7 separate regions of the Homo sapiens genome follow, and all the other regions are linked to region 7. Evidence: promoter capture Hi-C in 16 types of primary human blood cells and fetal thymus (Javierre and others, 2016). All regions are on one chromosome and are shown on one strand. The core of a region is centred on a gene start or on the middle of the fragment in contact, and the rest is flanking DNA. Distances in the headings are between cores, read along the strand shown. Region 1 has its middle 54 kb from the start of APOBEC1. Region 2 overlaps APOBEC1 (apolipoprotein B mRNA editing enzyme catalytic subunit 1). Region 3 has its middle 7.0 kb from the start of CD163L1. Region 4 overlaps CD163 (CD163 molecule). Region 5 overlaps CD163 (CD163 molecule). Region 6 has its middle 32 kb from the start of APOBEC1. Region 7 holds the start of PEX5 (peroxisomal biogenesis factor 5).

Region 1 (4,076 bases), core at 1,275-3,774, 420 kb after region 7:
AATGAAAGAAAAACGTTAAAGGCAGCTAGAGAGAAGGGACAGATCACCTACAAAGAGAATCCCATCAGGCAAACAGCAGACATTTTAGCAGAAATCCTACAAGCTAGAAGAGATTAGAGACTATATTCAGCATTTTTAAAGAAAAAAAATTTAACCAAGAATTTCATATTCAGCCAAAGTTTTACAAACAAAGGAGCAATAAGATCCTTTTCAGACAAGCAAATGCTAACAGAAATTGTTACTGCCAGACTTGCCTTACAAGGATTCCTGAAGAAGGTGCTAAATATGGAAAGGAAAGACTGTTACCAGCCACTACCCCCCCAAAAAACCGCAAAACTTAAGTGACACTATAAAGCAGGAACACAAACAGCCTGCATCATTACCAGCTAACAACATGATGACAGGATCAAATCCACACATATGAGGGCTAACCTTGAATGTAAACAGGCTAAATGCCCCAATTTGAAGGCACACAGTGGCAAGTTAGATAAAGAGGCAAAACCCAGTGGTACGCTCTCTTCAAGAGACCCATGTCACATGCAATGACACCTATAGGCCCAGAGTAAAGGGATGGAGAAAAATCTATCAAGCAAATGGAAAATGGCAAATAGGAGTTGCTATTCTAATTTCACACAAAACAGACTTTAAACTAACAATGATTCAAAAAGACACAGAAGAGAACTAAATAATGATAAAGTGCTCGATTCAACAAGAAGACCTGTTAAATATATACACACCCAAAACAGGAGCACCCAGATTAATAAAGCAAGTTCTTAGAGACCTGTGAAAAGATTTAGATAACTACACAATAACAGTGGTAGAATTTAACACCCCACTAACAGTGTTAGACAGATCATTGAGGCAGAAGACTAACAAAGACATTTTGGACCTTAACTCAACACTTGACAAAATGGACCTGATAGACATCTACAGAATTCCCCACCCAAAAACAACAGAATATACATTCTTCTCATCTATGCATGTCACATATTCTAAAATTGACCACACAATTGGACATAAAACACCCCAGCAAATACCAAAAAAACCCAAACTCATACCAACCATACTTTCAAACCACAGTCCAACAAAAATAGAATCAATGCTAACAAAATTACTCAAAACCATACAATTAAATGGAAATTAAACAATCAGCTCCAGAACAATTTCTGGGTAAACAATAAAATTAAGGCAAAAATCAAGAAATTCTTTGAAACTAATCAGAGGGCCGAGCGTGGTGGTTCATGCCTGTAATCCCAGCACTTCGGGAGGCCGAGGCGGGCAGATCATGAAGTCAAGAGATTGAGACCATCGTGGCCAACATGGTGAAACCCCATCTCTACTAAAAATACAAAAATTAACTGGGCGTGGTGGCGCATGCCTGTAGTTCCAGCTACTGAGTAGGAGACTGAGGCAGGAGAATTGCTTGAACCTGGGAGTCAGAGGTTGCAGTGAGCTGAGATCGTGCTACTGCACTCCAGCCTGGCAACAGAGCGAGACTCCATCTCAAAAAAAAAAAAAAAAAAATTAATTAGAAAAACATACAACATACAAGAATCTCTGGGACACAACCAAATCAGCGTTAAGAGGGAAGTTTGTATCACCAACCACCCACATCAAAAAGTTAGATCACAAGTTAACAACCTAACATCACAACTAGAGGAACTAGAGAAACAAGAGCAAACTAACCCCAAAGCTAGCAGAAGGCAAGAAACAACCAAAATCAGAGCTAAACTAAAGGAGATTGAGATGTGAAAAACCATACAAAAGATCAATGAATCCAGGAGCTGGATCATTGAAAGAATCAGTAAGATAGACTGCTGGCTATACTAATAAGTAAAAATGAGAGAAGATCCAAATAAACACAACCAGAAATAACAAATGGGATTACCACTGATCCCACAGAAATACAAAAAACCCTCAGGGACTATAACAAACATCTGTATGCACACAAGCTAGAAAACCTAGAAAAAATGGATAAATTCCTGGAAACATACAATCTCCCAAGATTGAACCAGGAAGAGATTGAATCCCTGAACAGACCAATAATGAGTTCCAAAATTGAATCAGTAATAAAAAGCCTACCAACCAGAAAAAGCCCAGGACTATATGAATTCACAGCCAAATTCTGCCAGATGTACAAGAAAGAGCTTGTGCCATTGCTTCAGAAAGTATTCAAGAAAATTGAGGAGGAGAAACTTTTTCCTAACTCATTCTACGAAGCCAGCATCATCCTAATACCAAAACCTGGCAGAGACACACAAACAAAAAGGAAGTTTCTGGCCAATATCCTCAATGAACATATAAGGTTGGTGCAAAAGTAATTGCAGTTTTTGCCATTGAAAATAAAGGCCAAGTGGCCAAGTGTGGTGGCTCATGCCTGTAATCCCAGCACTTTGGGAGGCCAAGGCAGGCAGATCACTTGAGTCCAGGAGTTCGAGACCAGCCTGGCCAACATGACAAAACCCCATCTCTACTAAAAACACAAAAATTAGCCAGGTGTAGTGGTGAACACCTGTAGTTGCAGCTACTCAGGAGGCTGAGGCAGGAGAATCGCTTGAACCTGGGAGGCGGAAGTTGCAATGAGCCGAAATGGTGCCACTGGACTCCAGCCTGGGTGATAGAGAATCCATGTCAAAAAAGAAAGAAGGAAGGAAGGAAGGAAGGAAGGAAGGAAGGAAGGAAGGAAGGAAGGAAGGAAGGAAGGAAGGAAGGAAGGAAACAAAGAAAGAAAGGGAAAAGAAAAGCCAAAACTGCAATTACTTGTGCACCAACCTAATAGATGCAAAATACTCAACAAAATTCTAGCAAACCTAATCCAGCAACACATCAAAAAGCTAATCCATATGAACACGTACGTTTTATCCTATCCCTGAAATGCAACTTTGGTTCAACATACATAAATCAATAAATGTGATTCATCACATAAACAGAACCAAAACCAAAAACCACATGATCATCTCAATAGATGCAGATAAGGTTTTTGATAAAATTCAACATGCTTTCATGTTAAAAATTCTCAACAACCTAGTCATTGAAGGAATAGACTTCAAAATAATAAGAGCCATCTGTAAAAAACTCAGAGACAACATCATACTGAATGGGCAAAAGCTGGAAGCATTCCCCTTGAAAACCAGTGCAAGAAAAGAATGCCCTCTCTCACCATTCCTATTCAACATAATAAGGGAAGTCTTAACCAGAGCAGTCAGGCAAGAGAAGGAAGTAAAAGACATCCAAATAGAAAGAGAGGAAGTAAAACTATCCCTGATTGCAGATGATGTGATTCTATACCTAGAAGACCCCTATTCTCTGCCCAAAAGCTCCTAGATCTAATACACAACTTCAGCAAAGTTTCAGGATACAAAATCAGTTTGCAAAAATCAGTAACATTTCTATATACCAACAACTGTCAATTTGAGAGCCAAATCAGGAACACAATCCCATTCATAAAAGCCACAAAAAGAATAAAATACCTAGGAATATAGCTAACCAGGGAGGTGAGATATCTACAATGAGAATTACAAAACACTGATAAAATAAATCAGAGATGACACAAATGGGAAAACATTCCACGCTGATGAATAGAAAGAATCAATATTGGAGAAATGACCATACTGCCCAAAGCAATGTATAGATTCAATGCTACTTTTATCAAACTATCAACATTTTCTTTACAGAATTAGAAAAAAAAGCTATTTTAAAATTCATATGGAACCAAAAAAGAGCTCAAATAGCCAAAGAAATTTATTTAGTTATTTAGTTATTTATTTTACAAAAAGAAAAAAACCTGGAGGCATCACAATACCTGACTTCAAACTACCTTACAAGTAATGAAAACAGCATGGTACTGGTACAAAAACAGACACATAGACCAATGGAACAGAATAGAGGGTGCAGAAGTAGTACCACACACCTACAATCATCTGATCTTTGACAAAATCCAAAAAAGCAAGCAATAAGGAAAGGACTCCCTATTCAATGAATGATGTTGGGATAACTGGCTAGCCATATGCAGAAGATTGAAGCTGGACCCCTTCCTTACATCATATACAAAAATTAACTCAAGGTGGATTAAAGAC
Region 2 (4,114 bases), core at 1,596-4,095, 460 kb after region 7:
CTATTCATCTCCAAGCCACAGAAGGATGTATCAGCCCTGTAGCTAAAAGGATGTGTGGCGGAATCGTTTGGTAATGGCAGTTTTGAAGATGAAGTCTGAAAAATGTAAGATGATTTTGCCATCTTCTTGAAATCTTTAAACAGGGTGGAAGACTCTGGAATAAAAAAGGATTATATTTAATCCTTAGGATGAATATTTTAATTAATAATATTATCACCACAAACATTTAAAAATGTCAGTTGGAAGACGATTTAACTATTTCTTCTTTTTTTTTTTTCCCAGACAGGGTCTGGTTCTGGACTCACTGCATTCACCCAGGCTGGAGCGCAGTGGTGCAATCACAGCTCACTGCAGCCTCAACCTCCTAGGCTCAAACAATTCTCCCACCTCAGCCTCCCAAGTAGCTGGGACTACAGGCACGCACCACCACACCCAGCTAATTTTTTTGTGTTTTTGTTGAGATGTGGTTTCGCCATGTTGCCCAGGCTGGTCTCCAACTTCTGGGCTCAAGCCATCCACTCCCCTCTGCCTCCCAAAGTGCTAGGATTACAAGCATGAGCCACTGCACCCAGCCTGAACCACTTTCAAGAGAATCCAATGGAACACGTACATTCTCTTCAATAAGATTACACACACTAATAAGAGAAAGGAGAATATCTGAAATACAGTAGAGCCAATATGTGTTGTAGTAACAAGAACAATAATAATGATAAAGCCAGACATGATGACACACGCCTGTAGTTCTAGCTACCCAGAAGGCTGAGGTCAGAGGATTGCTTGAGGCTAGGAATTCGGAGTTTGAGGCTGTGGGTTGCTGTGATGGTGCCTGTGAATAGCCGCTACACCCCAGCCTAGGCAACACAGCGAGACCCTGTGGCTTAAAAGATAATGATAATAAAATAAGAATAAAAATGATAAAATGTAATTAATATGGGGACCACCCATATCTTAGATCGGTTTACCCAAATTCCCTTCTCCACTTACCTCCCACAAACACACTTCTTGTTCTTAGGCTTAGATGTTGTTTGTTTGCTTGTTTGTTTACTTTGTTTGATACATAATTTTCTTTTTTATAGAGAGGGGGTCTCATTATGTTGGCCAGGCTGGTCTCAGACTCCTGGTCTCAAGCAATCCTCCCATCTTGGCCTTCCAAAGTGCTTGGATTACAGGCATGAGCCACTGTACCCAGCTGTGTTTTAGAAACAGGATCTTGTTATACCACGCAGGCTGGAGCATATTGGCGTGATCATAGCTCACTGCAGCTTGCAACGCCTAGACTCAAGCTTCCTGCGTAGCTGGGACTACAAGTGTGCACCACCATACCTGGCTCTGAGATTTTCTTAAGAGGAGCTAGCTAGTTAAATAACTAAATCTCAATATAAATGTCAAAAAGAAGATATGAGTCAAATTTTCTCAGGAAAGACCTTTGAAGAAGGATGCTTCTTTTTGCATCAACATTTGTGTCCCTAAAGTGACTTACTAGAATTATGCAGTGCAGCTCCAGTGCGTACAACATCATCCACAGAGGTGGGTATTGTGGCCAGTGAGCTTCATCCCCAGGTGGGTAGTTGACAAAATTCCTCCAGCAGTGATAATACTCTAAGGAAACACAAATCTTGGCTCATTCAACAAGCACAATGGTAAATTACTTAAGAAGATCCCCAACCTAGCTTCCCGTATAGAAAGCCTGTAGTCTCTAGTCTAGTTGCTGCTGGACATTAGACCCCCTAAAAAGAATAAAGCAGTTCATTTAAAGATGGCTGAGAGGCAAGACTAGAGAAAAGAGTTGTTGGCTGGGTGCGGTGGCTCACGCCTGTAATCCCAGCACTTTGGGAGGCCGAGGGGGGTGGATCACAGGTCAGGAGATCGAGACCATCCTGCCTAACACAGTGAAACCCCGTCTCTACTAAAAATACAAAAAATTAGCCGGGCGTGGTGGTGGGCGCCTGTAGTCCCAGCTACTGGGGAGGCTGAGGCAGGAGAATGGCGTGAACCCCAGGTGGAGCTTGCAGTGAGTCGAGATTGCACCACTGCACTCCAGCCTGGGCGAAAGAGCAAGACTCCGTCTCAAAAAAAAAAAAAAAAAAGAGTTGTTGTTTGTTTTTGTTTTTGTTTTTTGATACAGGGTTTCGCTCTGTCACCTAGGCCAGTGTGCAGTGGTCCAATCATAGCTCACTGCAGCCTTGAACTTCTGGGCTCAGGAGATCTTCCTACCTCAGCCTTTAAAGGTGTATGCTGCCATGCCTGTCTGATTTTTTTATTTTATTTTTTATTTTATTTTATTTTATTTTATCTTGAGACGGAGTCTCGCTCTGTCGCCCAGGCTGGAGTGCAGTGGCGCGATCTCGGCTCACTGCAAGCTCCGCCTCCCGGGTTCACGCCATTCTCCTGCCTCAGCCTCCCGAGTAGCTGGGACTACAGGCGCCCGCCACCACGCCTGGCTAATTTTTTTGTATTTTTTAGTAGAGACGGGGTTTCACCGTGTTAGCCAGGATGGTCTCCATCTCCTGATCTCATGATCCGCCCACCTCGGCCTCCCAAAGTGCTGGGATTACAGGCGTGAGCCACCGCACCTGGCCGGATTTTTAAATTTTTTTTAGAGATGGGGTCTCACTATGTTGCCCAGGCTGATCTTGAACCCCTGGCTTCAAGTGATCCTCCTGCCTTGGCCTCCCAAAGTTCTGGGATTATAGGCATGAGCCACCATGCGTAGCCAGGAGTTGTATTTTTGTAACTTTCCTTGTCATGAATTTCAGACCTAGTCCTTTATGACATTATTTTGGACTTTTACTTCTGAGACTTCCAGCCTGGGCTAACCAATCTTCTGGCCTAAAAACAGCTACTATCACCACAGTCTGTTGTAAACAATGAAGTTTCTTTGTTTACTGTTTTTACCTGATGCTCTCATAATCTGAATAGTTACTCCACTGTTAACAAGGTCCCTGAGACCTTGCCGATTTTGTTGATCCATGTGCCAAAAAAGCCGAGCTACGTAGATCACTAGAGTCACACCAGGGTGCCGACTCAGAAACTCTCTAATAGCCTGGGAGCATTCCCAGCAGGGACTCCAGGACAAGAACCAGGTGATGGAGCAGCTCATGGATGGGTGAAAATCTCTTTCTGACGTAAATTTTTTTATAAAATTAACTTCCACGTGATTGGTGGTGTTTTTGCCTGAGCTTCGCCAGATCTTCCGGCTCATGCCCCACTTGATTTCGTAGAGCAGACAGGCCTCTTTACGAAGTTCTCTGGGGTCATAGAAGACGTCAAACTCCCAGGGTTCGATTCTTCTCCTGAAATACAAAAAGCAGCCCACACTGTCATGCCACATTTAGAGAGATCTTAGAAATCTTTTCCTGCTCCCCTCTTCTTTTTTTATTTTATTTTATTTTATTTTATTTTTTTAAGATGGAGTCTCACACTGTTGCCCAGACTGGAGTGCAGTGGTGCAATCTCAGCTCACCACAACCTCCACCTCCCAGGTTCAAGCGATTTTTCTGCCTCAACTTCCCAAGTAGCTGGGATTACAGGCTCCCGCCACCATGTCCAGCTAATTTTTTTGTATTTTTAGTAGAGACGGGGTTTCACCATGTTGGCCAGGCTGGTCTCAAACTCCTGACCTTGTGATTCGCCCACCTCAGCCTCCCAAAGTGCTGGGATTACAGGCGTGAGCCACCACGCCCAGCCTCTGCTCCCCTCTTCTATCAGGCTGATCTGAGACATAACATCTCAGGAAACTTCTTTTTCTAGTATATGTCTCAAAGTTATCTGAAGAGGTCTGTTTGAATTATCAGATTTTTTTTTCTCACAAACATAGTGCACAGGTTTCTTCCCCCAGTCACATTATTTGGTGACCACTCTCTAATACCATTATGTTTTAGTCTTGAATTCAGGTGTAAGCGTGTCTTTGTTTCTCTTTTAAATTTTCCTTCATTATATTCTAACCCTTTTTTTTTTTTTTTTTTTTTAAGACATGGTCTCTCTAAGCTGGCCAGCCTGATCTCCCCTTCCTGGACTCAAGCTACTCTCCTGCCTCAGCCTCCTGAGTAGCTGAGACCACAGGTGTGCCCCACCATGCCTAGCTATATTCTAACTTTTCTATTTTACACCTAGA
Region 3 (3,884 bases), core at 1,084-3,583, 260 kb after region 7:
ATTACTCCAATCTATTCATGAGTAAAACATGAGGCAAACCCAAGGTGAGGGACATGCTAAAAAACACCTGACCAGTACTCTTCAAAACTGTCAAGGTCATAAGAAATAAGAAAAGACTGAGAAACTGGCATAGACCAGAGGACACTATAAAGACAGGACAACAAAATGCAATGTGATATCCTGGATTGGATCCTGAAACAGAAAAGAGACATTAATTTTAAAAAATCTGGAGTTTATTTAACAGTAATTGGGTTTGTTTTCCAGGGCTGCCATAGCACAGTACCACTAACTGGGTGGCTTAAAACAATAGCAATTTATTTTTTTTACAGTTCTGGAAATGACAAGAATGAAATCAAGATGTCAGCAGGCCATGTCCCTACAAAGATTCTAAGGGAGGATCCTTCCTTGCCTCTTCCTAGCTTTTGCTTGTTGCTGGCAATCATAAGCATTCCTTGGTTTGAAGATTCATCACTCCAATCTCTGCCTCCACCATCATATAGCATCCTTCCTGTGTGTTTCTAAGTCCAAATTTTCCTCTTTTCGTAAGGACACATTGTTGGATTAGGGCTTACTCTAATCCAGTATAGCCTCATTTTAACTGATTACATTTGCAGAGACCCTATTTCGGATTGAGGCCACATTCATAGATACAAGGGATTAGGACCTGAACATATCTTCTGTGGGGACACAATTCAATCCACAACAATAATGTACCAATGCTGGTTTCATAGTTTTGACAAATGTTCCATGATGATAGTAGATGATAATTATTAGATTAGGGGAAATTGAAAATGGATGAGCAGTAAATGGAAACTCTCTTTATTATCTTCACAACTTTTCTGTAAATCTAAATTATTCCAATATAAAAAGTTTATTTAAAAGAGAAGTGAGAAATATATCTTTTAAAAGTATTCTTATAAAATATTTGAGGAAATATGGTGAAAGAAGGAACATGAGCAAGCTACCCTACATCTTCAAATGCAAACATAATCTATCTGTATAATTTATGATGTTATTATAAATCACAGCTATATATTTATAAATATATGTATATAAGTTTCTTAAATTATAATATAGTCTTTCTTTAGATTTATTTATTAGGAGTTTTTATAGTCCACTATGATCCCAAAAATAATAAATTGCAGTGGTGAGTGACAAATTCCTTTTTTCTTCCCTATAGATTATGTGGTCTCCTTATAGATACTGTAGCAGAAATTCAGGAGAAGCAATAATATGGTAAGGAAAAAGTGAGGAATTCTAGGGCCAGAAATATTTTTTAAAATTTTGGCTTTAAAACTTTTCTTTCTAACTAGAAAACCTTTAGCGAAAACTAGAACATAGATGCAAACAAGGTTTTAGACGACAAAAAATATTTACAACCACTCTAGGGCTACCTATTTGTCAGATAACCATGAGATCATACTAGGCAAGAAGGGCAAGACCATGGAGGGTATGACTAGGTAGGAGGACATAGCATTTGCTTTTGGTCTGAGAGGACAGTGGCAGGTTACAGAAAAGAGACAGAGCTATAAGAACCCAGAAAGCCCCACGGGCCAAGAAGGAGAGCTTATATTTACAGATTGAGCTGGTGAGGTCACAGAGTCAACAGCAGCACCAAGCAGAAGACATGATACTGTGTCATCAAAGTAACGCTAACACCTGTATCTATGACTCACCCAATCCTAAATAAATGCATTTGCCCAGAGTGACGAGGCAACTAATGTAAATGCACGAAGTGGGTTGAGATCGGAATGTGGTAAAATGGCAAGTGCACGTCCTGTTGAAAGGAAGAAGAGGTTACTCACCTCCAATTCACCGTTGTCATGTTGAAATGATGGCCCAATGTTTTCAGACCTCCTGATTTTCAAGAGAAACAGAAATCTGCATTACATTAGTAATAATCCGGTTTAAAATTGGAAGAAAAAAGATACATTTATAATGATAACAAATGCACAAACTTACTTAGGAGCCAATTAAACAAGAAATGTTAGGACTGTTATATTACAACGTACAATAGAGAGAGAGAGAGAGAGATTATTAATAATGAATGAATTGTATTGGGTTGACAACAGAAGGAGAGAATTCTGTAAAGGAGTCATTAAGAAAAGTAATCTAATAATTATTAAGGTGGCAAAGATAAACATTTTTATTTCTAAAGTACATCATTTTCCAAAGAACGTGATTTTTTTAACTAGGTGACTGAAGTGACCAAGTGATATAGACATTAAAAATAAGAAAAATTGAGACTAGACAGAGACAAAGGCAAACCTTGAGAGGACAATTTTGCTCATATAGATTTGTTTCTTATCTGTATGGAGGTGGCCCTTATTCTAGGCTTGCCCTTGTTTCCTCAAAGTAAACAGGTTACCTACAAAGACTAACAGTTTCACAAATTTATGCTTAAGTGGGTATAAGACAATGGAAATTGAAATGTCTTGGCTCCATATAAACTGTATTTTGTTTTGAAAAGCAATATAACATGATGGTGAGGAATGTGGCCGCTTGAGCCAGAGCACCTGGGTTCAAATTTCAGCTCTGTCATTACTAGCTGCATGCTTTTAAGCAAGTCATTTAACCTCCCTGTATTTTAGCTTCCCCAAATCTAAAATGGGTAAAAAAAAGTACCTACGTCATAAAGTTATTGTGGGTATTAAGTTTTTAATTCATATAAAGCATTGAAACAGTCCCTAGCACATAGTGAGCACCGTGTAAATGTTAACTCTTATTATATGGAGTGGAGATTTCACCATAAAGAGGAAATATTGAGCAACAAAAGAAGGGGAGAGAACGTTACTACTAATATTCTGTCAGACAATAATGGAAATTCTGAAAGCACCACAACAATATTTTTTAACCATCCAGGAATGTATTAATAGGAACTATTTTAACAATTAATGTCTGATATAGAATTCTGGTAAAAATAAATCTAAAATATAGGTAAAGACTTTATTTATATTAAATATTACTTTGAAGCATGTACATAAAGATTTATATTAGTATATAGGCAGAGTTCCTCAGTATATATACTCTACAAAGATGTATACATATGTTCATATTTGCACACACATATATATAGTACCTGGCATATGACTGGATGCATAGTGTATGGAATACAATTGGGTATTTAATACATAATACCTGACAAATAGTAGGTGCTCAAAAAGTTTTGTTGAATAAATGACTAAGTAATTTAGTTAATCTATGTCAAATATATATTTGAAATTGAGAAGAAGTGCAAAAATACAGAAAGTGTGCCAAATGGCATGTTTCCACAAGAGAGTTGCTTTGTAGACTTAAATGTCAGAGAAGCGTGTTTGTAATACCTGGATACTAAGAAAGGATTAAAAATCAATTTTCACCTTTCATCTGGATGTCAGCAAGACGGCACAATACAGCTTTCCAACGCTGGCTCCCTATAGAAACATTTGAATAACTATTCATGCACAAAAATACACTCACAAAAGCTAAGAAAACCAGGTGACAGATTATAGAACATAGTGTAGCACAGCAATAAGAAAAGATGTATTGGAGAGGAAGGACAGTTTTACATTACCAACATCCTCTGCCCCAACCCCAGAAAGCATGATGTGGAGACAGATACCCTCCCTGTGAGGGAAGGAAAGGGAAGTAAGCATCAGATTTTGCCTAGAACTTCAACACTGAGCCTGCCCCAGCAAAACCCAACACTGGGCAGGCCCAAGGCCCCAGACTCCAGGGTAGCAACCATGGGCTGGGTTCCAGGCCCACAATGGTGCCAGGCCAGATCCTACAGCTCTAGGCTCCAACCATGCTTGTTGGACTCAGTCTTGGGTCCTGCCATACCACCAGACCTACCCCAATGGCCTCAGGCTCCAGACTGCCTTGGTACCAGGCTGACCCCAGCA
Region 4 (3,865 bases), core at 168-2,667, 300 kb after region 7:
GAAATTTATGCCATGATTATAAATATATTAATAAATTTCAAATATTTTCATGTGATGTTTTTCCTTTAGATGACTTAACGTTTCCTTAAAATGTATGCAATGATCCCTTACATAATTTCTTATAATTTCTGTAATAATCATGTATGCAATAATTAATCCAAAAGTATCAATGTAATGACCTATAATGTAACAACCTGTAATGTTCTCTGACTCTATTTTAGGCATTTGATGATGGGTGGGTTAAAAAGGCCGCCACAGAATTCAGTCTGTCAGTGAAGATAGATAATACTAAAAATAATAATCATAATCATATTAGCTAACATGTATTTATAGCTCACTGTGTAATTCCTGTGAGGTAGGCCCTATTACCACTCCCATTTTTCTTCTGAGCAAACTGCAGCACAAACAGTTTTCATAGATTCCCTAATTTCGTCCAGCTATTAAAATTAAGGAGAGGTGATAAACACTAATTCTTTAGTACACTTTAAAATAGTATGCTGTTACCTTAAAAGCTTTAATATCTATTACTTTATCAACCTAATTTGATGCTCCAGCCTAAAGATGCTTGGGCATGCCGTAATTTTCATGCTTCTGTGCCTCTGTAGAAACTTTTCTCTCTACTTAAAATTTATTTCCCTACCTTATATACCTAGGAAAAGGCTACTTCTTTTCAAGGCTGTTCAATTTCTCACTAATAGCCTTCTCCTCCATGAACACAGTTCACTACAAGATATACATATTTTAATAGTGATGAACCCAAAAATAGAAATATGTATTAGACATAAAACTAACAAATAAAGGAGTCATTCACTCTGTTTTAGACTATGGGGGAGAGAATAACATAGATCTAAACTGGATCTTGAAAAAAGATGAGGAGTTTGCCAAATACACAGTGTGTGAAACAATCTTTAAGGAATATGGTCACGAAATGCATGGTGTCATTGAAGAATTATAAGTAACTTACTGTAGCTGAAATTTAAAATATAAAGAAAAGACACACCAGAAATAATAAATGGAATTTATATTATGAAGATGCTCTTTGTCAAGTTAAGAAACACAATCATCAAGATAAGTGAGTTTCTTTGAAAATACTCAGAGGCAATATAAAGTACTTAAGAGATACAAACTATTTCTTTTAACTTGTTCTTTAAGAGAAATAAAGAAAATGCAGTTGAAAATTAGACCTTCTGAAGGTCTTAAGTCCTTTATAGATACCTGCTATCAAATATCAACAATTTTTGTAATCTCTTGATGTTACTATCACAATGATATAGATACACCATCAGCCCTTGCCAATCTACATACTCTGATTTCCTTTCATCTCTCATAAACCTTTCACCTGATACAAAAATGTCTTAGAAAATGTTTCGAATATGACCATGTTCTGTACTACAGCAATATAGAATACCTCAACATGTCAAAATTTCACCCATTATCCATTAAATCTGCGCAAAGCAAATTCCTATCCAAATTTGAAATGAAAAACATGTTGCTTTCTAAACATAGCTCAGAGTTTAAAGCAAATAACACCTCTACAATACAAATAATTAATGACCCTTGAGTGGGATGGTCTTTCATTTCTTCTTTTTGAATCTTTATTCAAGCATGAAATTTCTCTAAGATATCATTAACTAGTATTCATATGATCCCAACCTCTTTTGGACAGCCCTAAATCTTTAAGTAAAGGCAGTCTCCTAGATCAAGCCAAATTCTGGTTTCTTGTAACTTCTTACTCTTTCATTTGGACCCATCTTGAACAAAATAAACCAAAAGAAAACCAGTGAAAAACAAACAAACAAACAAACAAAAATATTTTCTTTTCCATTGTGAAAACTCATTAAGCAATTGAGAAAAAGTCCCTTCTATAAGTATCCTCTTGTTTTCTTTGTACTAACATATTTGAGTCAAGGCAGAGGACAAATTCTCCAACTCAGAAAGTGACTTGGAGACTCCATCCTCAGCCTTTATTTCGTGAATCTGCTAGTAACATGTTAATCTATCCTATGGGTCGCTTTGCTTATATCGTTACTCTTTAGACATGGATAGAATATTGGAAATGTATCCCTTTAATGGATTTTTTTCTGCTAAGTCTCTGACTGTGTTTTTACATAAAAACCATTAAGTAAATTTTTGCACCTGGATTTAGCACCATTGATCAACAACTACAGTTTTCCCCTGGCATAAGTAACTGAATCTGTTTTTCTTTCTTTTTCTAGAAAAATAAATAGATCTACAAAGAGCTTTAACATAATTAGAGACATAATTAACTAGAATTACTTCCTTTTGTTTAGTGATAAATAAAATATACAATTATGATTTAAAGAAGCTTTAATGTATTTTCAACATTTAATGCTTTTCAGACTCTGAAGAAGTATAGATCATCATAATCTCAGAATTATTTCTCCATCCTAAGTTAAAAGACAGCATAGCTCAAATGAACTGTTTCTTAAGGTCAGATGTCCTCTACAGTACATACACAGACATCACAAACAAAATGTCTGAGATTCAAAGTAATTTTGTGGCCAAAATTTCCTAGACCTTTTTCTGTCAACAATTTATCTTAAATTGTTTCCAATTCTCCTGCTTAGTTGAATTCTCCTGGTTCTTTTAAGCTGTATAGCCCTGTACTATATAAAAGTTAAACAATTTAAACAGATGATCAAATTCGTAGCTTGAATTTGGCAGGCACAGAGACAGCATATCATCATTGACAGAGACAGTATGTCATCATTGAAAGTATCAAGTAAATAAAGAAACAAAAGTACAAACTATATTACTAACAAAACATGTAAAAAGCTAAAAACCAAGGCCCCCAACATAAGTAGAAGAACTTCCAAAACCTACAGCAATATAACAAAAGAGTTTGTAAAAGGAAACAAAAAGTGCACATGGCAAATAGCAAACAAAAATACAGCTCTGTGAAGTACGGAGCCCACCTTAAGTTGCAAATTTATGTTATTCATGATTTCTATTATACACATCTGAATAGAATCCTGAATAATTTAGAACATGTTACCATAAGTAAGGTATTCTAGTAATGCAACCTAAAATATGGGTGTGGTTGAATGGAGTTGATGGGCAGAATGCATTAATGACTCAGGTGTGAGAGGCTAAAAACCTAAGGAGTCTTACACATGGTAAAATATTTGGGTAAGCCTCACTTTGAAAAGAAAACCGTGTGCTCACTGATGCTTAAAAAATGCAGAATTTATTGGGCAAAGTACAAGAAACAAAACTACAAAAAATCAGAATATTTGCATGACGTGGATTCTCCTTGCCACTTTTAGCATTTACAAGAAAGATGAATTCAGACTACAAGCAGTCAGAATGCAAGCAGAAATGGGAGGAGAAATATCAATTTTATAAGGGGGTATGGTCTGCCTGCAGGTGTTGTATATTGTTAATCAAGAGTCCTATAATTTGGAATTGAAGAATTGAAGAAAAAACTCTAAGTATCCTGTCCCCCCAAATTGAGGTGGTGGTAAAACTGTAGCCTTGTCAGAAGATAAAATTGATACTCCAGATACAAAGGCAATGAGTCTACCGGCAAAGACGGAATTTAGGTCTTGTCCTTCCTCCCAAACCCACAGTTTCAAACGGCCTTAAGGCAGTGGTCAATAATTAAAGAGAAGGGCTGGTCACAGCATAGATCAAAGTATATTTATATGCTCTTGGACTATAGTTACTTTCAGATGGCATTGGGTTATAAAGCAAGTAGACTAGAAGCTTAGTAACCTTGGAAAGAACTTTTTTGTTGAATTTGAGGGCAGCTGACATCAGCCCTTGATTAGTCAATCTTTAATCCAAAGGTCCCTAAACCAATATTAGCAGAAAGTGGGTTGTGAAAGGTGTGCTGTCCTTAGAT
Region 5 (4,219 bases), core at 153-2,652, 280 kb after region 7:
AAGAAAATGTGGTACATATACACAATGGAATACTATTTAGCCTTTAAAAAGAGGGAAATCCTGTCCTTTGCAACAAAACAAATGATCCTAGAGGACATTATGTTAAGTGAAATAAGCCAGGCACAGAAAGACAAATGTCATATTACCTCATTTATAAGTGGAATGTGAAAAAGTTGAACTTATAGAAACAGAGAGTAGAGTGGTGGTTACCAGTAGCTGGAGGAAGGTGTCTAGAGGATGTTGGTCAAAGGATACAAAATTTTCATTGGGTAGGAGGAGAAAGTTAAGAGATCTATTGTACAACATGGTGACTACAGTTAATAACAAGGTATTGTATTCTCGAAAATCACTCAGAGGAGGTTTTAAGTGTTCTCACAGAAAAAAGTAAGTATGTTAGGTAATGCATATGTCAATTAGCTTGATCTAGCCATTCCACAATGTATACATATTTCAAAATATCATATTGAACATGATAAATATGTAAAATTTTGTCATTTAAAAAATAAATAACACAAAGAAAGGATAAATGCTTGAGGTGATGAATACCTAATTTACCCTGATGTGATGATTACACATTGTGTGCCTTTATCAAAATATCTCATATACCCCATATATATATACACTTACAGTGGACCCACTAAAATTAAAAAAAAATCAATTGCATAGAAAACTAGGATATTTAGCAAGTTAGTAGGCCCTAAGTTTAGTGTTGTACTACTTTAAATGCTATCTTTTCTTTATGTGAATATGTATCATAAGTAACTTTTAGTAATATACAAACTTACTTTATAACCATTATATTTACATAGAAAAGACATAGTTTATGTATGTATTTAAGCTTTACTTATAATGTCCTGAGGAATGAGAAACGAAACCACTGAGTCTTTGTGCCCTCACCAGGTGTGGCTCTGCATTTTATTCTAGTGAACAGAATTACAGTAACAAAAAGCAGTTAAAGAATCGTTGTGAGTCATGCCTTATAAAGTTAGCCATATATTATTTACAGACCCTTCAATATCATTAACTTTTCCTGTCTTAGAAAAACTAAAGTAAAAATAAATTTATTTTTATTTGGTAATAGGAAAATTATTCAAACCAAATAAGAAAAAATATACAGTACTGTATATGCAAATTGAAACACTGTCAAATAAAACACATTATAATACATCTAGGAAACTCTACAAAAAATTAGGAAGCCCATTTAGAAATTAATAGAATTAAGGACAAGTAATTAAAGCAAACTCAAATCAATAACATTCTTATTTATTTATTTAATTCCCTTGAAAGTCTCATATACACCACTAAGTAGTCACATTCACAAACTTAATTTTTATAAATTCAGCAGCAGTCTTAGGAATCCTAGGAGAAGAAGAACTCCATAAAAATGCAACTGTAATAGTCAGTGAGAGAGGTGAATTTCTGCTCCATTCAATAGTCCAGGTCTTCATCAAGGTATCTTAAAGGCTGAACTAAAACCATAAATAGAAAAATGTCATTTTCCTCTCCATATGCGTATAAGAATTCATTACATTATAACACAAAGAGAAACTCACTTATGTTAAAAATTATACTACTTTCCTGAGCAGAAATTTTAAATGCTATTTTTTTTTAACTTCAGTGTGCATAAGAATTACTTTTATTCCATGGAAATACAGTAAGATTAAGAAATGCCATTTATAGGAGCTGGCAAGATGGCTGAATAGGAACAGCTCCAGTCTGCAGCTCCCAGTGAGACCAACGCAGAAGTCTCTGCATTTCCAACTGAGTCATTTCTGCATTTCCAACTGAGTGGCGCCTAGAACCCCAGGGAGACAGAACCTTTCACTCCCCTGGAAAGGGGGCTGAAGCAAGGGAGCCAAGTGGTCTCACTCAGCGGGTCCCACTCCCACAAAGCGCAGCAAGTCACGAACTACTGACTTGAAATTCTCGATGCTAGCACTGCAGTCTGAAGTCGAACTCGGACAATCAAGCTTGGTCGGGGGAGGGACATCTGCCATCACTGAGACTTGAGTAGACGGTTTTCCCGTGACAGCGCTAAGGAGGCCAAGGAGGCCGTTGGCCAGATTGCCTCTCTAGATTCCTCCTCTCTGGGCAGGGCATCTCTGAAAGAAAGGCAGCAGCCCCCCTCAGGGGCTTATAGATAAAACTCCCATCTCCCTGGGACAGAGCACCTGGGGGAATGGGGCGGCTGTGGGTGCAGCTTCAGCGCACTTAAACATTCCTGTCTTCTGGCTCTGAAGAGAGCAGCAGATCCTGACAAGGAGAATTCTCCCAGCACAGCGCTCGAGCTCTGCTAAGGGACAGACTGCCTCCTCAAGTGGGTCCCTGACCCCCATGCCTAGTGACTAGGAGAGACCTCCAAGCAGGGGTCAACAGACACCTCATGCAAGAGAGCTCTGGCTGGCATCAGGCCAGTACCCCTCTGGGACGAAACTTCCAGAGGAATGAGAAGGCAGCAATCTTTGCTGTTCTGCAGCCTTCGCTGGTAATACCCAGGCAAATAGGGTCTGGAGTGGACCTCCATCAAACTGCAGCAGAATTACAGAAGAGGGGCCTGACTGTTATAAGAAAAACTAACAAACAGAAATCAATAATATTAACATCAACAAAAAGGACCCCTACACAAAAACCCCAACAAAGGTCATCAGCTCCAAATATCAAAGGTAGATAAATCGATGAAGATGAGGAAAAACAAGTGCATAAATGCTGAAAATTCCAAAAACCAGAATGGCTCTTCTCCTTTAATTGATCACAACTCCTGTCCAGCAAGGGCACAAAACTGGACAGATAATGAGGTTGATGAATTGACAGAAGTGGGCTTCAGAAGGTGGATACTAACAAACTTGTCTGAGCTAAAGGAGCATGTTCTAACCCAATGCAAGGAGGCTAAGAACCTGATTAAAGGTTACAGGAACTGCTAACTAGAATAACCAGTTTAGAGAAGAACACAAATGACCTGATGGAGCTGAAAAACACAGCATGAGAACTTCGTGAAGTATACACAAGTATCAATAGCCAAATCGATCAAGTGGAAGAAAGGATAACAGTAATTGAAGATCAACTTACTGAAAAAAGGAATGAAGACAAGATTGGAGAAAAAAGAATGAAAAGGAACAAACAAAGCCTCCAAGAAATATGGGACTATGTGAAAAGAACAAACCTATGATTGATTGGTGTACCTGAAAGTGATGGGGAGAATGGAACCAAGTTGGAAAACACTCTTCAGGATATTATCCAGGAGAACTTCCACAACCTAGCAAGACAAGCCAACATTCAAATTCAGGAAATACAGGGAACACCACTAAGATACTCCCCAAGAAGAGCAACCCGAAGACACATAATCATCCGTTTCTCCAAGGCTGAAATGAATGAAAAAATGTTAAGGGCACCAGAGAGAAACGTCAGGTTACCTACAAAGGGCAGCCCATCTGACTAACAGCAGAACTTTCTCCAGACACCATACAAGCCAGAAGAGAGTGGGGGCCAATATTTAATATTCATAAAGGAAACAATTTTCAACCCAGAATTTCATATTCAGCCAAGCTAAGCTTCATGAGTGAAGGATAAATAAGATCCTTTACAGAAAAGCAAATGCTGAGGGATTTTGTCACCATCAGGCCTGCCTTACAAGAGCTCCTGAAGGAAGCACTAAATATGGAAAAGAAAAACTAGTACCAGCCACTGCAAAAACACACCAAAATATAAAGACCAATGATACTATGAAGAAACCACATCAACTAATGTGCAAAATAACCAGTTAGCATCATGATGACAGGATCAAATTCACACACAACAATATTAACCTTAAATGTAAATGGGTGAAATGCCCCCAATTAAAAGACACAGACTGGCAAATTGGATAAAGAGTCAAGATCCATCGGCGTGCTGTATTCAGGAGACCCACCTCATGTTCAAGACACACACAGGCTCAAAATAAAAGGATGGAGGAAAACATAACAAGCAAATGGAAAACAAAAAAAAGAAAACAGGGGTTGCAATTCTAGTCTATGATAAAATAGACCTTAAGCCAATAAAGATTAAAAAAAGACACAGAAGGTCATTACATAATGGTAAAGGAATCAATGCAACAAGAAGAGCTAACTATACTAAATACATATGCACCCAATACAGGAGCACCCAGATTCATAAAGCAAGTTCTTAGAGACCTACAAATAGACTTAGACTCCCACACAATAGTAGTGGGAGACTTTAAAACCCC
Region 6 (4,125 bases), core at 776-3,275, 440 kb after region 7:
GCATTATTTGTTTTTATCAACTTTGTTGGTTGTAGGTATTGGCTTTATTTCTGGGTTCTCTTATTCTGTTCCATTGATCTAATTGTCTATTTCTGTACCAGTACCATGCTGCTTTAGTTACTATAGACTTGTGATATAATTTAAAGTCAGGTAATGTAATGCCTCTGGATTTGTTCTTTTTGCTTAGGACTGCTTTGGCTATTCAGGCTTTTTTCGTTCCATATGAACTTTAGAATTGTTTTTTCTAAGTTCGTGAGGAATGAAGTTGGTAATTTGATGGGAAATGCATTGACTGTAGATTGCTTTGGGCAATATGGTCATTTTAAGTATATGGATTCCTCCAACCCATGACTATGGAATGTTTTTTTGTTTGTGTCATCTACAATTTCTTTCACCAGTGTTTTGTAGTTCCCCTTGTAGAGATGTTTCACCTCCTTGGATAAATGTATTCCTTGGCACATGATTTTTTCATGGCTATTGTAAATGGGATTGAGTTTGATTTGGTTCTCAGATTGAACATTATTGATGTATACAAATGCTACTGATTTTTATATGCTGATTTTGTATCCTGAAACTTTACTGAAGTCGTTATCAGGTCTATGAGTCTTTTGGAGGAGTCTTTATGGTTTTCTAGGTATATGATCCTATCATCAGTGAATGGAGATAATTTGATTTCCTCTTTTCCAATTTGGATCCCTTTTATTTCTTTCTCTTTCCTGATTGCTCTGGTTAGGAGTCCAGCACTATGTTGAATAGGAGTGGTGAGAGTGGACATCCTTTTCTTGTTCCAGTTTTTAGGGGAAATGTTTTCAACTTTCCCCCATTCAGTATGATGATGTTTGTGGGTTTGTCATATATAGCTCTTATTATTTTGAGGTACATTCCTTTGACGTTTCATTGGTCGAGGGTTTTTATTATGAAAAGATGTTGAATTTTATCAAATGCTTTTTCAGCATCAGTTGAAATGATTGTTTTTTGCTCTGCATTTTGTTGATATGGTGCCTCATATTAATTGACTAGCATATGTTGAACCATCCTTGCATCCCTGGAATAAAGCCCACTTAACTGTGATGAATAATCTTTTTGATGTGCTTTTGGATTCAGTTTGCTGATATTTTGTTGAGGACTTTGGCATCTATGTTCATCAGAACAGCCCTCATTCAACTCTTCAGCTACGTAACTTCTACTAGTGACCTAATTCTTTGAGATGTCATTCCCTGCAGGAGGGCATCCTTGCTCTTCCAAGTCTAAGTTAAGAGGCATTATTTGGTTTTCTTACCTCGTCTTAGGCCTTAACAACACTGCCTTTTATTTGCTTTTAATATCTACTCATATGTAAATGTAACCTCTTCATAATAGGAAATATGTCTAATTTGCTTCCTAATTTATACCCCAGGCTGGCACATTGTAAGTGTGGAATAACTATTTGGGGAATAAATTCTTACATGGAAACATAACTGTTGCCCCTGTGTGATATATGTACTTTCAATATACTGGCATATTATCTACAGAAATATTAGAAGCTAAAGAAAATTAGAAGCTAAGAGAAAATTCTTAAAATCCCATATTCCCATTTAGGATATTGATTGTGATCTTATAAGCCAAGTTAGACTTAGATGACATGGAAAAGGACATATGTAGGACCTAATCGCCTTTTTTCTTTTGTAGCTTGAAAATGACAGCCTTGGTTTATTTTTATTTTTTACTGATCCATAATAGTTGTGCATATTTATAGAGCACATGTAATATTCTGATACGGGCATGTAGTATATAATCATCTAATCAAAGTAATTGCGATATCCATTAGCTCAAACATCATGTCATTTTCAGGGACATGGCTGGAGCTAGAGACCATTATTCTTAGCAAACTAATGCAGGAACAGAAAACCAAATACCATGTGTTCTCACTTATAAGTGGGAGCTAATGATGAAAACACATGTATACATAGAAAGGAACAACACACACTGAGGCCTGTTGGAGGGTGAAGGGTAGGAGGAGAGAGAGGATCAGGAAAAATAACAATGGGTACTAGGCTTAATATCTGGGTGATGAAATGATCTGTACAGCAAACCCCCATGACACAAGTTTACCCATGTAACAAACATGCACATGTACCCCTGAACTAAAAAGTTAAAAAAATTTGCTGAGCACGGTGGCACACGCCTGTAATCCCAGCACTTTGGGAGGCCAAGGCGGGTGGATCACGAGGTCAGGAGATCGAGACCATCCTGGCTAACATGGTGAAACCCCATCTCTACTAAAAATACAAAAAATTAGCTGGGCGTGGTGGCGGGCGCTTGTAGTCCCAGCTACTTGGGAGGCTGAGGCAGGAGAATGGCGTGAACACGGGGGGTGGAGTTTGCAATGAGGGGAGATCGCGCCACTGCACTCTAGCCTGGGCGAGAGAGCGAGACTCCATTTCCAAAAAAAAAAAGGTTAAAAATTTTTAAAAAAAGAAAGTCTATAGGGCCCAGACTTACCCAACATCTTTATACTTTATTGCACTGTGGCCCTATTAGACTTTCCTGTGAGTTGGATCCTGTCCAACTTCCCAAACAGATGCTGATACTTTGTGGGTTGTGTAGTTACTGATAATTCGTCATCATCTTCTCATAACTGAAAGCTCATGGAGAAATTTTGCCATCTAGTTTTGCTATAAATGGGTTTTGTTCATTGCTCCTTGGTTTTGCTGCCCTAGATGGAGATTTTTAAAGTGCACTGTACTAAAACCACCTACCTAGAATCTTCCCCATCTTCATTCTTAAAACACTTTTCTCTCCACTTGGCTTCTGGGATAAAAGTTTTCTGATTTATCTTTTATCTTATTGGCTACTGCTACTCAGCCAACTTTGCTGTTTCTTCGTCTTTGTCTTGATCTCCAGATGTTGGTAAATCCTGTGGATTGGTCTTCAATTTTCTTATGTCCACAATTCATATTCACATGTCTAAGTAAGGTCAACCATTCCTGTGACTTTAAGACAATGCATATGTAAAGCCCATTTTTTTAATCCCCAGATTTTACCTTTTCTATCAAATTCAGACATGAATAACTGTCCACTTGTATGTCTAATAAACATTTTAAAAGTTAACATAATTAAATGGAACTCTTGACTTCACTTTCAAACCACTCCTAGCCCTGTGTTCCTCATTTCAGTTAAGTGACAGTATCATTCATCTGGTTGTTCTTGCTAAAAATGTAAAAGTCATGAGTTTTCCCTTTGTAGCATACATTTATTCCATCAACAAATCCTGTCAACTAAACCTTTAATATATATCCCAAATCTTACTACTTCTCACCACTTGTATCTTTATTTCAGTAGAGATAATAGTCATATTTCCTAGTATGGATGAAAATAGTCAAACTCTATAAAATATGTGAAGAGATTTATTCTGAGCCAAATATGAGTGACCATGGCCCATGACACAGCCCTCAGGAGGTCCTGAGAACATGTGCCCAGGATGGATGGGGTACAGCTTGCTTTTATATGTTTTAGGAAGGCATGACACATCAAATACATTTAAGAAATACATTGGTTTGGTTCAGAAAGGCAGGACAACTCAAAGCAGGGGCTTCCAGGCTATAGGTAAATTTAAACATTTTCTGTATGACAGTTGGTTGAGTTTATCTGAAGAGCTGGGATCAATAGAAAGGAAATGTCCAGGCCGGGTGTGGTGGCTCACACCTGTAATCCCAGCACTTTGGGAGGCCAAGGCAGGTGGATCACCCAAGGTCAGGAGTTCGAGACCAGCCTGGCCAACATGGTGAAACCCTGTCTCTACTAAAAATACAAAAATTAGCTGGGCATGGTGGTGGGTGCCTGTAACCCCAGCTACTTGGGAGGCTGAGGCACAAGAATCTTTTGAACCCAGGAGGCGAAAGTTGCAGTGAGCCGAGATTGCGTCATTGCACTCCTGCCTGGGTGACAGAGTGAGACTCTGTCTCAAAAAAAAGAAAGGTATGTTCAAGTTAAGATAAAGAATTGTGGAGACCAAGTTTTATTGTGCAGAGGAAGCTCTCTGATAGCAGACTTCAGAGACAGCAGGTTGTAAAATGTTTCCTATCAGACCTAAAAGGGTACCTGGCTCTTAGTTGATTATCTCCTGGATCCAGAAAGGAAGAAAGG
Region 7 (4,213 bases), core at 937-3,436:
GTTTCCTCTTTTGTAAAATGGGGGATAATAGTTATTATTAATAACTATTAGGAGGATTAAATAAATCAATAGTTGAAAAGTGCTTGAAACAATGCCTGGCACACAGTCAATGCAATGTGTGTCTAAACATCTATTGAACTTGAATTCGTCAAACATTAAAGAATAAGTAAAAATTATTTTTATTTTATAAAAATTACTACTTTTATGAATAGAACAAGAATTTAAAGTTGAACCTGGATTAACAAAATCTAGGGTTTCAAATCTAGAGCTTCAGTAAATTAAATATTAAACACCAAAGTCACTCTATTAGCCCTTTCCCAGCACCTCTGGCTGGGACTGTGGACCAAGTTCTGTGAATGATTCTATGGCCTAGGAGATCAAAGATCTCCATGGTTTATCAGTAAGTCTTCTCTAAGACTGGGAAGTAGGTGCCTAGAGTTATGCCTGGATTAAATTTTGACTTCCTAGCCATCTGATTTTGCACAAGTCTTATCTGTAAAGTGGGTCTACTAATATCTATTTAATAGGGGTATTAAGAAGATTAAAAACATTGAGATACATAAAGTGTTTTACACAACACCTGGATTTTAGTAAACATCAGTTATTATTATTAGCATTCTTCCAAGATCTGCACACAAAGTGAGTTACGGCTAATCAGTTGATAAACTCCTAGCAGAGCAGAAGGTTATGTGTGTTGTGATGTTTAAGTGGTACTGGGAAACTCTGGTTGCCTTGAGGTTCTGAAATTCTACTGTATCAGATGGGTTCCTTTAAACATTGCTCTCTCTAGGGGGTCCTCTTTTTAAAAGTATGCACCTTCTGGAGGGCATCTCTTCATCCTTGTGTGGTTTAGTTTATCAGGTATTTTCCTCACGATGGCAGCCTGAGAACAGGGGACGCCCAAGGGCTGGGATTTGTGTGCTCCGGAAGAAAACGGGGTGTAGAAGTGGGGCCTCTGAAAGAGGGCGAAAAGGCAAGGAAAAGGAGAAATGTTGCACAGTCTTATGGTCTGTCCCCTGCCATTCTGTTCCCCTGAGGTGTCAGAGCAGCTTCTCTGTCTTCCCAGGGATGAGTTTACACAGACATTCCCTGTGGCCCCCTGAGGCCTCCACCTCTGAAATCTGCAGAACAGCCAGGAAACAAGCCCGGCCCATGGCGCCACCTGCTGCCTGCCTGCCTCCGCTCATGCACCCTGGGCTGGGATGGTACTTCTGTTCGTCTGGCATTATTGCCCTTGGTCATTTACCGGCAGCCCTGGGCCCCTCCTTGCTCTTCTCCATGACACTAGGACTCCCTTGGTCTTGAAGCTGGGTGAGATTATCAGGGTTTGTTTCTCAATGACTTTGAGGTTTGACAGCAGAGCACACTCTTTGGCAGATGAGGGGGCTTGAGGCTTAGTCTTATTCCGTGATTAAAAGCATTTCTTGTATGTTTGTCCTTTCCCAGCCTGGAGTGATGGGAATAAGGCCACTATGTTGACTTAGCGGAAGGAAGGGCTGACTCACTGTTCACCTTCCCTGTACGTTACCAGCTCGAGGTCTCAGGATGCGTTGGACCCTATTTTGGTCTCCGGAATTTGTCATCATGCAGTGCTATTTTCCCCATTATGCAGAGGTGGAGAGGGATTAAGGCGGGGGCGGGCCCCTGTCTCCATGGAGACAGTGACGCTACCCCGCTAGGGGTTATTTGGAAGCGGGGCAGGCCTAGGAGGCTGAAGAAGGCTTCGGACTGGACTCCCCAGCCCCTGGTGTTAGGGCTTTTCTCTTTCTTGGGCTTGGGAACATTAGCCAGCCCCATTTTAGAGGGGAAAACTGAGGCTCAGAAAGGGCACTGAATCCCCTTAGGTCACAATGCGCCCAAGGGAAGAGGCAGGATCGACTGAGCCTAGGATCTCGCGTCTTCGGCTTTCCCCCAGAGCCTGGGAAGCCCTTCTTAGCTCCACTCTTCTTTGAGCTTTCCGTCAAACAAATCCTAGGGCCCGTGGCCTTTTCGAGCGCTCCTAAAGGCGACTCTCCAAGACCCGCTCTCTAAGGTGCTCTTCCCCTTTAAGACTCACGGCTCTTCCCGTCAGGCTGCGTCGCAGTCTTAAGGCCCCGCCTTTTCAGACAGCTTCCGCTGGGCCTGGGCCGCTGCGGGGCGGTCACGGCCCCTTTAAGCCTGAGCCCCGCCCCCTGGCTCCCCGCCCCCTCTTCTCCCCTCCCCCAAGCCAGCACCTGGTGCCCCGGCGGGTCGTGCGGCGCGGCGCTCCGCGGTGAGCGCCTGACCCCGAGGGGGCCCGGGGCCGCGTCCCTGGGCCCTCCCCACCCTTGCGGTGGCCTCGCGGGTCCCAGGGGCGGGGCTGGAGCGGCAGCAGGGCCGGGGAGATGGGCGGTGGGGAGCGCGGGAGGGACCGGGCCGAGCCGGGGGAAGGGCTCCGGTGACTTAAGGGGAGGGAATGCTCCTCTGCCGTGCTCACCGCGTGCTGGGGCTGCGCGGGGCTAGGTATGGTCGGGCTGTTTTCCCACTGTCCCTTCTTCGGGCAGTGTCGCCGTCCAGCCTGGTTGTTGAAGCGTCCCCGTGGTCCCCCGGGGTCCAGGCCCCTTTGTGGAGGCAGCTGCTGGCCCCCAGCCCATGGGACCGTAGTCGCGGAGGCCTCTGCAGAGGCGCAGGCTGGAAGCGGTGGCCTTTGAGGGGGGCGGCAGGAGAGAGTACCGACCTCCCTCGAACTCCTGGCAGAGGTGGGGGTCGCAGCAAAAGCACTGGGGTGGAGGGCGGCCAGTGTGGGGCAGACGCCTGTGTGCCTTCCTCAGATACGGGCAGAGTTGTGGATGTGAGAAGGGTCTGGCTTGGGTACCTCAGTTCCAAACCTCCTGTGTCCATCAGAGAGCTGGCGGTCACCATGGCAATGCGGGAGCTGGTGGAGGCCGAATGCGGGGGTGCCAACCCGCTCATGAAGCTCGCCGGGCACTTCACCCAGGACAAGGCCCTTCGGCAGGAGGGATTGAGGCCTGGCCCCTGGCCCCCCGGAGCCCCGGCCTCTGAGGCAGTGAGTGTTCTTGAGGTGGAAAGCCCAGGTGCAGCCTCTGAGGCAGTGAGTGTTCTTGAGGTGGAAAGCCCAGGTGCAGCCTCTGAGGCAGTGAGTGTTCTTGAGGTGGAAAGCCCAGGTGGTGGTGGTCTGAGGTGGAGGGGCTGTTTGCACATCTTGGTATAACTGCTTTCTCTATTGTGTTGCAAATCATAGTAGTTACCACTTACTGAGCGTTTATAAACACTAGAAAACCCTGTGCACCTTTAAATAAATGCAACCATTTTATAGATGAAGAAGCCGAGGCTCAGATGCCTATGGGCTTCATCAACCCCTGATTTTAGAGGAACTGCGTCATTGTACATCTCTGTCTTTCTCTCTTAGGCCTCCAAGCCTTTGGGAGTAGCTTCTGAAGATGAGGTAAATAGACCAGTCTCTTTTCTGTCCCATTTTTCTCTTGCCCACTGTGTTTTTACCTTTAAACTTAGTTCACCCGTATTTCAATTTTTGGGCTTTCCTGACCGAATGAGAATGCCTGCTTGTTTTTAAATGTATTTTTTCGTCCTTCTAAATCTATGGAAAGACAGTTTCTCTTTATGTGTCTCCAGTTTCTGTGTTTTCCTTTCCTTGTATCTAACATTGGGATCCCCCTCCAGTGGGTCCTGCCTCTTGCTGGGGCCTCCCAAGCCTATGGGTTCATTTCATCATTTCCCTTCTGGCAGTTGGTGGCTGAATTCCTGCAGGACCAGAATGCACCCCTTGTGTCCCGTGCCCCTCAGACCTTCAAGATGGATGACCTCCTGGCTGAGATGCAGCAGATTGAGCAGTCAAACTTCCGCCAGGCTCCCCAGAGAGGTGAGTCCAGAGTCTAGTGGGAGGGGAGATCGTTTTCCATGTAGCCAGGGCCAAGGAAGGGGGTTCCATTGGATGCTGCTGGCATTGGGGACCTGAGATGCAGAAGGAGACAAAAGTAACAGAGTGTTTTCACGTGGATTCAGGGTTCTTTAGGCATGATGGAATGGTATGTATGTATTCTTTCTTAGTTTTCTCTCTCTCTCTTTTAAGCCCCTGGTGTGGCAGACTTGGCCTTGTCTGAGAACTGGGCCCAGGAGTTTCTTGCAGCTGGAGATGCTGTGGATGTAACTCAGGATTATAATGAGACTGACTGGTCCCAAGAATTCATCTCTGAAGTTACAGGTGAAACTTGTT

The links. Contacts are between HindIII fragments. The CHiCAGO score rates a contact against its expected background, and 5 or more counts as called.
Region 1: a contact is called between a fragment that was not itself captured here and the fragment with the promoter of PEX5 in region 7, in 3 of 17 cell types (M0 macrophages, M2 macrophages and erythroblasts). The highest score is 8.7, in M0 macrophages.
Region 2: a fragment that was not itself captured here is called in contact with the fragment with the promoter of PEX5 in region 7 in 15 of 17 cell types (M0 macrophages, M2 macrophages, endothelial precursors and 12 more); the score reaches 13.5 in M0 macrophages.
Region 3: a fragment that was not itself captured here is called in contact with the fragment with the promoter of PEX5 in region 7 in 5 of 17 cell types (erythroblasts, M2 macrophages, M0 macrophages and 2 more); the score reaches 9.9 in erythroblasts.
Region 4: a fragment that was not itself captured here is called in contact with the fragment with the promoter of PEX5 in region 7 in 4 of 17 cell types (M0 macrophages, M1 macrophages, erythroblasts and 1 more); the score reaches 5.8 in M0 macrophages.
Region 5: a contact is called between a fragment that was not itself captured here and the fragment with the promoter of PEX5 in region 7, in 4 of 17 cell types (erythroblasts, M0 macrophages, M2 macrophages and 1 more). The highest score is 9.2, in erythroblasts.
Region 6: a contact is called between a fragment that was not itself captured here and the fragment with the promoter of PEX5 in region 7, in 16 of 17 cell types (naive CD8 T cells, monocytes, M2 macrophages and 13 more). The highest score is 11.7, in naive CD8 T cells.

Annotation. Positions count from the first base shown.
Region 1 is chr12:7,609,870-7,613,945 of GRCh38, forward strand. No RefSeq gene overlaps it. Among named protein-coding and RNA genes, the nearest start is that of APOBEC1, 54 kb to the right of the region's middle. RefSeq lists a silencer at 371-571. The HindIII fragment of the contact is 6,485 bases long and covers 1-4,076 here.
Region 2 is chr12:7,649,543-7,653,656 of GRCh38, forward strand. It overlaps APOBEC1 (apolipoprotein B mRNA editing enzyme catalytic subunit 1), which reads right to left. Exons shown (of 5, transcript NM_001644.5): 3 at 2,896-3,293; 4 at 1,481-1,599; 5 at 1-154. The coding sequence ends at 5. Among named protein-coding and RNA genes, the nearest start is that of APOBEC1, 14 kb to the right of the region's middle. The HindIII fragment of the contact is 3,129 bases long and covers 1,282-4,114 here.
Region 3 is chr12:7,449,199-7,453,082 of GRCh38, forward strand. No RefSeq gene overlaps it. Among named protein-coding and RNA genes, the nearest start is that of CD163L1, 7.0 kb to the left of the region's middle. The HindIII fragment of the contact is 5,120 bases long and covers 1-3,884 here.
Region 4 is chr12:7,489,350-7,493,214 of GRCh38, forward strand. All of the region lies in intron 6 of CD163 (CD163 molecule), which reads right to left. LOC124902870 (a long non-coding RNA gene) reads left to right here and starts at 3,842. Exons shown (of 2, transcript XR_007063197.1): 1 at 3,842-3,865. The HindIII fragment of the contact is 1,814 bases long and covers 511-2,324 here.
Region 5 is chr12:7,469,929-7,474,147 of GRCh38, forward strand. CD163 (CD163 molecule) reads right to left here. Exons shown (of 17, transcript NM_203416.4): 17 at 883-1,469. Among named protein-coding and RNA genes, the nearest start is that of CD163L1, 28 kb to the left of the region's middle. The HindIII fragment of the contact is 1,132 bases long and covers 837-1,968 here.
Region 6 is chr12:7,632,193-7,636,317 of GRCh38, forward strand. No RefSeq gene overlaps it. Among named protein-coding and RNA genes, the nearest start is that of APOBEC1, 32 kb to the right of the region's middle. The HindIII fragment of the contact is 7,139 bases long and covers 1-4,125 here.
Region 7 is chr12:7,187,500-7,191,712 of GRCh38, forward strand. PEX5 (peroxisomal biogenesis factor 5) reads left to right here and starts at 2,187. Exons shown (of 16, transcript NM_001351132.2): 1 at 2,187-2,251; 2 at 2,863-3,025; 3 at 3,389-3,424; 4 at 3,727-3,859; 5 at 4,070-4,201. The coding sequence starts at 2,879. RefSeq lists enhancers at 672-1,173, 1,174-1,673, 1,984-2,043, 2,044-2,760, 2,754-2,903 and 2 more and silencers at 1,084-1,133, 2,154-2,563. The HindIII fragment of the contact is 37,708 bases long and covers 1-4,213 here.